Linked DNA regions of Homo sapiens: regions 1 and 3 are each linked to region 2. The links are contacts of gene promoters, found by promoter capture Hi-C in blood cells and fetal thymus (Javierre and others, 2016). All regions are on one chromosome and are shown on one strand. The core of a region is centred on a gene start or on the middle of the fragment in contact, and the rest is flanking DNA. Distances in the headings are between cores, read along the strand shown. Region 1 overlaps ANTXR2 (ANTXR cell adhesion molecule 2). Region 2 holds the start of PAQR3 (progestin and adipoQ receptor family member 3). Region 3 overlaps ANTXR2 (ANTXR cell adhesion molecule 2).

Region 1 (3,528 bases), core at 47-2,546, 1.1 Mb after region 2:
AAATACAAAAAAATTAGCCGGGCATGGTGGCACGTGCCTGTAATCCCAGCTACTTGGGAGGCTGAGGCTGGAGAATCACTTGAACCCGGGAGGCAGAGGTTGCAGTGAGCCGAGATCACACCACTGCACCCCCAGCCTGGGCGACAGAGCGAGACTCCATCTCAAAAAAAAAAAAAAAAAAAAAAAGATGGTTTAGCTAAATCCAGAAGAGAATAAGAATTCCGGATGTTTACATCTAATTAACTATACTTCTGAACTATTCCAACACAGAAGGCCAAGTGGCGTATTAAGAAAGAAAACTTAAACCTAATTGCTCATTCTGAAGAAATGGGTGCCTTGTTTTGTTTTTTTAATGACTAAGCATAATCAAATAAAAAATTGTCTTCCCTAGTTCTTAATTCCTCTACTTTAAAGAATGTGGCCTGAATCATCTGACATGTTGGCATGGTTTTATTTTTTGGAAAGATAATTTTCATTCATAATAATATGTGATTCTTGCAGGTAATCTTACTGATTCAACTTTAAGGGATCAGTAGACATTGACTGAAGTTGTTTATAATCTGACAGTTAAAATTCACCAGAAACGAACAAGTTCTCTAATTAATGAAGGAAACATTCAAACTTTTAATGCTTAAAAAAATGAAATGAGAACAGAAGATGTCATTTTAAAACAAAGTTTACTCTTTCCTATGGTAGAAATGCATGCTGATATGATCTTGTAACCGACAAAAATAACTGCATTCTCCGAAAATCTCATTCTAGTATAATGTGGCTGGTGTAAAAAAAAAACAAAAACTGAGTTAATTCTCCGCAGATATAGAAATCCACTTGATGATATATGATGTATGGAACTGAAACAAGAATATCTTCCTCCTTTTGAGAGTAGTAGTAGCAGCGTGATCAAAATGTAACCATAAACACCACTCATAATTACAGGCAATTGTTGATTTCTTACTAAGAACCAGACACATTAATTCATCTTCTCATTTAATTCTCACAACAACCTACTGAGGTCAGCACTAGCATCATCTCCATTTTGCCCATGAAGAAACAAGCTTATAAAGGTAACTTGTCCAAATATTGGACTTCACTGACTCTGTACTCAAAATGCTTTCACTTCTACAACATACTACTTTAATCCTCCACATGTATTTTAGCATCTTATATTTAAATTTCTCTCATTAGTATGAGTTTCATTTGAATCTTCTAGCTTTTTACTACATTCACATATTTCTCATGGTTAACTAGAATGGCATTTACTATATGCTAAAGCAATATATTTACTTGTGAATATATATATTTATGAATATGTGTGTATAGATATATGTATTCTGTGAAAATTTTTCAGAAAAGTTGCAAATATGAAAAACACAGTTACATCTGCTTTTAAACTTTGCTGCTTCTTTAGAAAAACATTTTTGAAATTATTGGTATGGTACTGGCACCATCATTAAGCTAGAGCCTTTGCCCAAAGCTATGCTACTCCTTTTCTGGCATAGGTTGAGAAAACCGCCCACTGTAATGCAAACCAAATTCGGTAAGCTTTCCTTGCCTCAAGAGTCAACTATACATATTTAGTGTTTTCTGTCATATTTTATGTCATTTCTGTTAGCATCTATGGATTGTTATTCCTACTCCTACATAACTTCTACTTCTAGTTAGTATGTTTCTGACAGTGGAAGCCATACGCTCAGTAACAGAGGCTTTCTTATGGGCAAAAATGTATTAAAACAACATTGTGTTTACTTAGTTGCAAACATATATGGGAAGCAAGAGAGCAGTTCATTTTTATTTGCCCCAAGGATCTAATAATATTGAAAAAGGGCATTTGGGCGAAACTGGAGTCCTGAGTTTGAACCCTCATCACTCCATTTTTAATCTTCCATTTCTCAATCTGTAAAATGGGGATAACTGTACCTATTTCAAAGTTGTTTTAAGGAACAGAGCTTGGTAAAATAATATACATAAAATATACAACACAATACCTGGGACACAACAGGTACTCCATAAATTACCGTTAACACCTGAATATTTGTCTAATGGATTATTTAGAATATCAAGGTACTTTTTAATAAACCTTTTAGATCCAAGCTAAGAAGAAATGTATATAGAAGCAATAAAATCATTATGTAATACCTTTTGTTTAATTTAATTAATTTCTATTCTGCTCACTGCCATATAAAAATATTGTAAGCTAAATTGTTCAAAAAATGCCTACTATATAATGTCAGGCAGTTTCATGTAAAAAATTTTTTCAATGCCATATTCTTCCTGTTATAAAACATGACCTTGATTAAATCCAACATTATAGCTATGTTGAGCTCTGTGCTTAAACCTCAGGCCTAAAATCACACTCCAAATTGGTTTAGGAATATCTGCCAATAAAATCACTCAATCAGTCACTTATTTTATTACTAGTTAATTAAATGAGTATTTATTAATTGATTGTAGTAGCAATGATAATTGGGCTGTACTTGGTAAAATGGCTGCAGTAACAAATAATACAAATTACAATGTAAATAAAAGGAAGCCCCGTAAACAATTACAAAAGAATGCGATATTAAATAGGTTTAGGCACAGGGGTTCTAGAGGGCTGTGTGGGAGATTCAACAGACTTGGCCTTGGCATAGAGGCATTAGCAAAGTTTTCCTGCAGGAAGTCGACTACAGGATGAAGCTTAAAGAATGATCAGAAGTTAGGAAATGAGATTAGAAAGGAGTCCATGCAGATGGAGCACTCCGACAGGGTGGAAGGCAAGAAAGGGACAGGGACAGAACAGTCAAGGCAGTAAAAGTGATTCAGTACTCCAGCAACAAAAGAGGGTGAGAGTAAGAATGAAATGGCTCCAGGTTGAAAAGGGGAGCAGAGAAAAGATCATTGAGTCCCTGGATGCCATCTTTAGACATCTGGAATTCGTCTTAAGAGTTTTAAGTTTGATAGAAATATAGTTAGAAATGTGTTTTACAAATATCATTCTTGTTACAGTGTAAGGCAGGGGTCTGAAGAATAAATTTCAAAAGTAGAAAGACCAGTTAAGAAAGTCTCAGTGTACTTGAAATAAGTACCAAAGTAGAATTGAACTAAAATAGTGGCAATGAGGTTAGTGTGAAAACAAAAACTGAGACATATTAGGAGTTAGAATAAAAAGGACATGGACATTTATTGGATGTAGGAGGTGAGGAAGAAGAAAAAAGGATGACCTCAAAGTTTCTGTCTTACACAAGTAGGTGGGCAGTCTTGCATAGGGAACACAGAAGGAGCAAGTTTGAACAGAAGGATGTGAGTTTAATTTGGGACCTCCAAGTTTAAGGTGCCTGTAGAAAATCCAAGTGACTTTGTAGACATTTGGATAGGAGGCATTTGGACAGCAGACTTAAAGCTAGTAAAAAGATCTTGCCAGGAAATTTGGAGCTCATCAGGAAGAAAAAGGGAGCCATAGAAAGGGTGAGTTTATAAGTCAAGTATCCTCCAACCATGATAAAAACTGAGGGGCACTGGACACTGTGGCTCATGCCTGTAATCCCAACA
Region 2 (3,468 bases), core at 510-3,009:
GGCTCAGTGAGGTTACATTTTGCTCCAGGTCTCAGAGCTGTTAAGTGGCAGATTTGGATACTAAAGTCTTTGACTCAATAGCTCAAGAGCTAATGCTCTATACTTAATTTTCCACTCCATGAGATTTGGACCCTAACATCAGAACGCAGAAGACCACTGCTAGTTGAGTAGAAAATATTTAAGGCAATTCACTGCTTGCCCTATTCTTGTGGAACTCCAGATCCACAGCAGAACTCAGCTGTGTAATTTACTCATGCACAGGAGGCACTGGGGAGGAAAACGGTAATTACGCTTCAAGTTGTGAATCCTAAGGGCCATCCATTCAAGCCAAGTAGGGATGGGCAGTGATGTCACCTTGTGACCATGAGTCACAGAAACACTTTCATGGCAGGACAAAAGGAAAGAAGGGCAGGAAAAGACAATGCTGGAAAAATCAAGAATCAGACATGTGGTTGCCGCTTGAGCAATTCAACAGCCCACATTCTGGCACTAGGGTTTGCCACTACAGCGACCTGGAGCTAACCAACACCTGTATCTTAATTCTCCTGAAGCAGAGGTCCTGTATTTTAGTACAGGTAGTAAGTTTGGACAGTTACTCCAAGAACTAGAATAGTTATTTTTCAGTTTTGTTTTTTTAAAACACGGATTTTCAAGGGACTGTGGTTTTAAAGGTTTAAAATGATAAAGAAATTTCTTTCTTAGAGATGCTTCTGTGGTGCTCTAGTGGAGACTGGGTGCCCGTTATGAGCTCTCTTTACCACAGTACTTTTCCTACACAGCATTTTTTCCACAATGGTTATTATGTAATTGTGTAATTATCTATTTAATGTCTGTTACCCAGGCTACACCTTAGTAGCTTCATGAAAACAAGGGCCATGTTTGCTTTTTTTTCTGCATGGGCTCCATAAGTATTTGCCAAATGAATAAATCTCGGGTGTATATGTTAACTTGTTTCCTATTATACAGGCACTTATCTGGCCCAAAGCTACTGAATTCCCACAGTGTTGCTCTAAAAAGAAAGGTATACACCGGGCAAATATGGCTCAGCCCCATTTCAATATATATCTCAATGAGCCGAACAAACCGAATAAAGGATGTAAAAGCCCTTTGTAAAGAGCAAAGCGTCATAGGAGAGCTGTAATTATGATCACTGTTACTATCATGATTATTCCGTGGACCAAGTACCCCGGCCAGGTAAGGGGAGATAACGGGGGAGGAGAGGCGGCAAAAAGGGATGAAAAGGATGGGGCGGCGAGGAAATGATGGGCAAGCAGAAAGGCGGGGAAAGCAGAAGGGGGACCAGACAAAAAGGGTGTAGGTGAGAGAAGGGGGCACTCCAGGCGGAGGCAGCCAGACCGTACCTTTTGATACACAGCCTGGACGGCAGGTAGGCCCGGTAGCCGTCGGTGATGTACGGGTTGTCCTTGAGGGACCCGGGGATCTGCTCGTAGGTGTACAGGCGGATGCCACGGGGCACCAGGACCGGCCAGTACTGGTAGCTGCCCAGCTCGATGTAATGCGCGCTCTTCAGCAGCTTCTGATGCATCGTTCCCGGCCGCCGCCGCTCCCCGGCTCGGGAGCTCCCCCAGGTCCCGCCTCCCCGGGGAGGGGGCTTCGCCGCTGGCGCCCCCGCCCCGGAGCCCGCGGACGCTGCGCGAGGTCCTACCGCGCTGCCGCTGCTGCCCAGGGCCCGGCTCTGCGCTCACACCGGCCACTGCCGCCAGCGCCGCGGCGGACCCGGCAGCGTCGCAGCCTCCTCTGACGTCAGCGCGCCGCGGCGGCCCCGCCCCTCAGCCCTAGCTGGGAGGGGCAGGGTGCTGGGGCGCGCCCGGGTGTGCTCGAGCGTGCGCTGGCGGCGGCCCGGGCTCCCGGGCGTCTCTCACGCTGTGTTTTGGCGGCGCCTGGGGTCTTCGTTTGCATATGAGAAGAGCCGAAAGCACAGAGCTACAGGCGAATACAAGTGGATTTTTTTTCTTTTTCTGTTTTTTTATTAGAAGTAATAGTTGCTGCATTTTGAAAAATCAAGAGGAAAAGAGTTAACAGGAAGAAAAGTTCGAGGTAATTACCGTTTAGTTTATGCTTGGAATTACACACACTTAGTGTCAGAAGGGACTTTGAGGATTTCTAAGCTGAAGTCAGCTCTTAGCACGATAATTGGAAAGAGAGGAAACCTGATGCACGTGGAACATACACCAGCATCGAGCACATCCTGAGCCATAAAGGAAAGCCCCCGTGCATTCAAAACTCCGACCCCTTTCAGCGTTATGTTCTCTGATCACAGTAGAATTAAACTAGAGTAACAAGAAAACTAAAAGTCTCCACGTCTGGAATAGGAGCAATACACCAAATATTTCAAGGGCTGATGAAGAAATCACAATGGAAATGAGAATATCTACTTAACTGAATAATATAGAACATATTAAAAAATCCTGTGGAGTGCGGCTATAGTAGCGTTTACAGGAAGTGTTGCAGCTTTGTTTCTGGCTATTTACTGTAATGCAAGTGTTTACTTATAATGGCAACAGGGCAAAACATCAGTTTGAGTACCGTATGTGTATAATAGAACGCTTAGTCCATTGTTTGGCATTGTAAGGGCAAGAAAAATATCTTGTCCTCACTTATCACAAGGTTCACAGCTGACATTCCTATGAAAAAAATTAAGAGAAGCCAGGCGCAGGTGGCTCATGCCTGTAATCCCAACATTTTGGAAGGCCGAGGCAGGCGGATTGCTTATGCCCAGGAGTTGGAGACCAGCCTGGGTAACATAGTGAGACGCTGTCGCTACAAAAAAAACCAACCAAACAAACAAAAAACAAAAATTAGTCGGGTGTGGTGATGGGCGCCTGTAGTCCCAAACTATTCTGGGCTGAAGTGAGAGGGTTGCTTGAGCCTGGGAGGTCGAGGCTGCAGTGAGCCATGTTTGTGCCACTGCACTCCAGTCTGGGTGACAAAGCGAGACTTTGTCTCAAAAAATAAATAATAAAAATTAACAAGAAAAGGGATAATAAATTCATTTAACACAGTTTTATGTGACAGAGGAGTCTTCAGAAATGAAGACACAAAGACCCAGGAAAAAATGGGCTTTTTATGCTAAGTCTGATGAAAGGAGTGGATAGTTGTGGAGAAACATGATTGAAAGGGGGCATCATCTAATGATAATAAACTGAGGGGGGATCCTAGCTAGCAAGGCCAGTTCATTCAAATTCTTGGCCTCAGAGTATGGGGCAGGAACTCTCTAGAATGAGGGTTTTATGACCTAGTTTCAGGTGAGGTAAGTCAGAACTCCTTTGTGACCACGGAAAGGCAGGGACAGTCAGAAAGTAACCTTACTAGATTTTTTGTTGTTGTTGTTGTTGGGGGAAGACAGAGTCTCACTCTGAAGCCCAGGCTGGAGTGCAGTGGCACAATCTCGGGTCACGCAATCTCCACCTCCCGGGTACAAGCAATTCTCCTGCCTCATCCTCCCGA
Region 3 (3,399 bases), core at 489-2,988, 1.1 Mb after region 2:
CACATGCTATAATAACAAACGTAGGACACATAAGAGGTAATAAAAGCAATATCATGTCCTGAAAAACATACACAATGGATATAGTTATGGCCTTTTCTTCTGGTATTTAAAGTAATATGGGATTTGTGGAGAGTTGTAGTTGGTGTCGATCCAAGATAATAATTTATCATGCAATAAATTAAGATGGGGAGATAAAATCAAAATATTATTTAGGACCTATGTTGTCTTTGAAGTTTATGTTGAATTTGAGAGAAACATCTATGAGCTAGACCTTAGGACTTGAAGATCAACCACCCAGCTTGACCAAAACAAAAACACCTCCTACAATTAATATAAGCCTAGACATATTTTAAAATCCATATTTTTTTTCTAATTTCTAAGTGGCAACAGGAAGGATACTATATCTGGAAAACAGAATGCAGTCCATTCCAGAAGAATGAAATAAAAACTTTTAAAATGAATAACACCACATATTCAAAATTCAATCTAATATAAAAAGTATATAGCGCAATATCTTATGAATAGCAGCTACTCAATGAATGTTTATTCTATTTAATTAAAAAGTAAATGCAAAACTTTTTAATAAGAAGCATGGCCATTATGACTATAACATAAAAAACAGAGCATATAACACTAAGAGTTATGCATGTAAAAAGATACAGAGCTTACTGAGAAGTTATTTGAATTAATCAAAGCATATTTTCAGTTACACACAGTGAAAAAAATTATTTGGATAAATTCAAATTTTGGTAATTAATAGTACCTATAAGGCATATTGGACCAGATGCAAAACTAAACAAAAACAAAAACAACATGAAGAGAAACAAACTTAAGTTATGTGTTATCTTCTTTTTAAAGTCTTATTTTAGGTAGAATATATAAAAAGAGAAAAGGGGTATTAACTCCCATTAAATGGTTTCCTCTGTAATAACATTTTTTAGGATCAACTCTAAATAATAAGGCTTTTTCCTCCCCAAAATAGATTATTTCTTCATATATACATTCACATGTGCTACCTAAAGTTCTCCAAAATTTTTACAAATCTATTAAAAATTCTAAATATTCACCTCAGCAAGAATTTTTTGACACTGATTTTGGATCTATAACATCACTGGCAACCGATCATCACAAATAATTTACAAGTGCTCCAGGTGTGTCCTTAACAGATAGAAACTGCCAATTTCCATGACCCACAGCATGTCAGAAAATATTGGCAAGGGTAGTAGAGTCTAAAAAAGCAAGGTTTTTTTTTTTTTTCCTGACTCATTGAGCAGCTTTAAACACTAAAGGATTCATCCCCAATACAAAAAGATTTCAAGTTTAAATCAGGAGAAAATATATGAAAAGTATTAGTTTTAAAGGTCTAACAAAATGAAGCTTTAGTAATTAGACATCCAACTGCATAACATAAGCAGCAAAAACAACTGGAAAGGTGTTTCTCATCCTCTTGTCTTGTTTCCTTTTCACCTTTTAATATTCAGATGTGTGATTTTTATTTTTTCTATGGCTTCCAAACACCCCAGCCAAATATATTTTTCTCTAAGGGGTAATACTTCAACTAAGAACAATTGCTATTTTATAATCACATGTTTTGGTTGAGTTCATTCCTTAAAAATGCTTAGAGCTTCAAAATATCAGTTGCTCAATACAGCACACACCACTCTGACTAGTTTCTAAATATGGATTCTCTTCTGTCTTGCAAGTAAGCAAGGAATAAAAGCACACATGACAAATTTCTAAACAAACTTTTACCCTAAGAGAACTGTGGAAGAAGGTAAATCATACTCATTGTCTTTTAGTCTTCTGAGCTCCAAACAAAACAGATGGATAGTTCTGATTACATTGTTGATGAACATACTCTCATATAATAAATCTTTTTTAAAACTTTAGTTTCTTCCACATCTCACAATTCTGATATTTAAAATAAATCATATTAGCAGTCTTGCTGTTTCATTACAATATAGAAAAAATTCCAAAAATGCATAGTTTGTGATTGGAAACAAGTTTATCTGCCACTACTTTTTGGTTTTGCTGTTGTCGTTGTTGTCTTTGGTCACCACAAACTCAAAATAATCATTTAATGCTAGCTTAGAAAATAAATAAGCTTCCTATAAAAACTGCCTTGAACTTATGAGATAAAATAATAATAAATAGACTATTTCAGAATTTGAAGAAACTTGTTCATGGTATAATTTTCACTCTGATGCAAACATTATTTTGTATTAGCCTTATTTGCCCACTTTCTTGTTTTACTAAGACATGAAGTATATCTGCCAAGCAGTCTTAGTCTATATTTATTCCATTTGATTTTTCAGAAATCCAGGATGGCAAATGAAATGTTTCCCTATGCAACAATAATAGAAAAAATATCTTACTAATTCTTCTATTAATTTTCCAAATACACATCCTAAAAATTGTAAGCTCTGAAGAGTTTGGGGACCATACCCATTTTGGTAATACAAAACACAGCAAAGTGTCTTGAACACAGCCCAGTACCCAACAAATGCTTCTGAATCAACTGAGAATTATTATATTTGGAGAAAATGAAGTATAATTGAGAAATTGTACATTTTTCCTCATAATGTACACCAAATGGTACATTTGGTGACAAATATTAACCATTTTCTGCACCTGTTCAATTTCCTTCCACTCAATTAAATCTGCTTTTAAGAGCAGGTAAGCCTCTGTAGGACACCTTTTATAGTCCAACAGGTTAATGTTAAGAAATTAAAATTTGGAATTTCATTTTATCTGTGTAACCAAATGTCATCAGTTTAGTTTAGTTTTCTCACAAACTATCACAAAGCTGTACTTATTTATTCAAAGTGGATTTAATTTTCTTAAACTACAATCCCAACCAAATTTTTTTTAAAAAAAAGAAAATAATAATATTATTAGGGAATATTTTCATGCAAATACAAATACAGCTTTGGACAGTAGAGGCCAAAATAAGATCAGTTAATAAAATGAATAATTTAAAGGAAACTTTCTATGTTTATTATCAAGTGGGATTTCGGAGGAATGGGGTGTCTTCTTAGAATATATGTCAAAATATTTTAAATGTATTTGAATATAGTGAGCTGTCATCACTACTGATTTTTTTGTTCCTACCCTGGACACTTTTGCACCCTTACACTTCTATGAATAGTGCTCCTTTCTATTTGGGAAACTCTTTTCCACTCCATGTGGTCCTAGTGAGGCTGTGAATCACAGTGCCTTCTTCTCCCTCTCTCCCTTGCCCCCAACAGAATTGGTACAGGAATGAGCTCATGACTCAACCGAATCAATTAGAGTTCTTATCTGGGACCCTATACACTGATGCAAAGACAACACCCCTCACTTTCCAATATACTTGCTGAGGACCATGTAAGCCTCCTTTTGCAATTACAGTTCACCACC

What was found. The method cuts DNA at HindIII sites, captures the fragments that hold promoters and counts their contacts. A CHiCAGO score of 5 or more calls a contact.
Region 1: a fragment that was not itself captured here is called in contact with the fragment with the promoter of PAQR3 in region 2 in 1 of 17 cell types (M0 macrophages); the score reaches 5.4 in M0 macrophages.
Region 3: a contact is called between a fragment that was not itself captured here and the fragment with the promoter of PAQR3 in region 2, in 4 of 17 cell types (monocytes, M1 macrophages, M2 macrophages and 1 more). The highest score is 10.8, in monocytes.

The regions. Positions count from the first base shown.
Region 1 is chr4:80,020,987-80,024,514 of GRCh38, forward strand. All of the region lies in intron 10 of ANTXR2 (ANTXR cell adhesion molecule 2), which reads right to left. Among named protein-coding and RNA genes, the nearest start is that of ANTXR2, 50 kb to the right of the region's middle. The HindIII fragment of the contact is 487 bases long and covers 1,054-1,540 here.
Region 2 is chr4:78,937,679-78,941,146 of GRCh38, forward strand. PAQR3 (progestin and adipoQ receptor family member 3) reads right to left here and starts at 1,760. Exons shown (of 6, transcript NM_001040202.2): 1 at 1,362-1,760. The coding sequence starts at 1,546. RefSeq lists silencers at 1,290-1,359, 1,450-1,939. The HindIII fragment of the contact is 16,646 bases long and covers 1-3,468 here.
Region 3 is chr4:80,044,337-80,047,735 of GRCh38, forward strand. All of the region lies in intron 7 of ANTXR2 (ANTXR cell adhesion molecule 2), which reads right to left. Among named protein-coding and RNA genes, the nearest start is that of ANTXR2, 27 kb to the right of the region's middle. The HindIII fragment of the contact is 727 bases long and covers 1,376-2,102 here.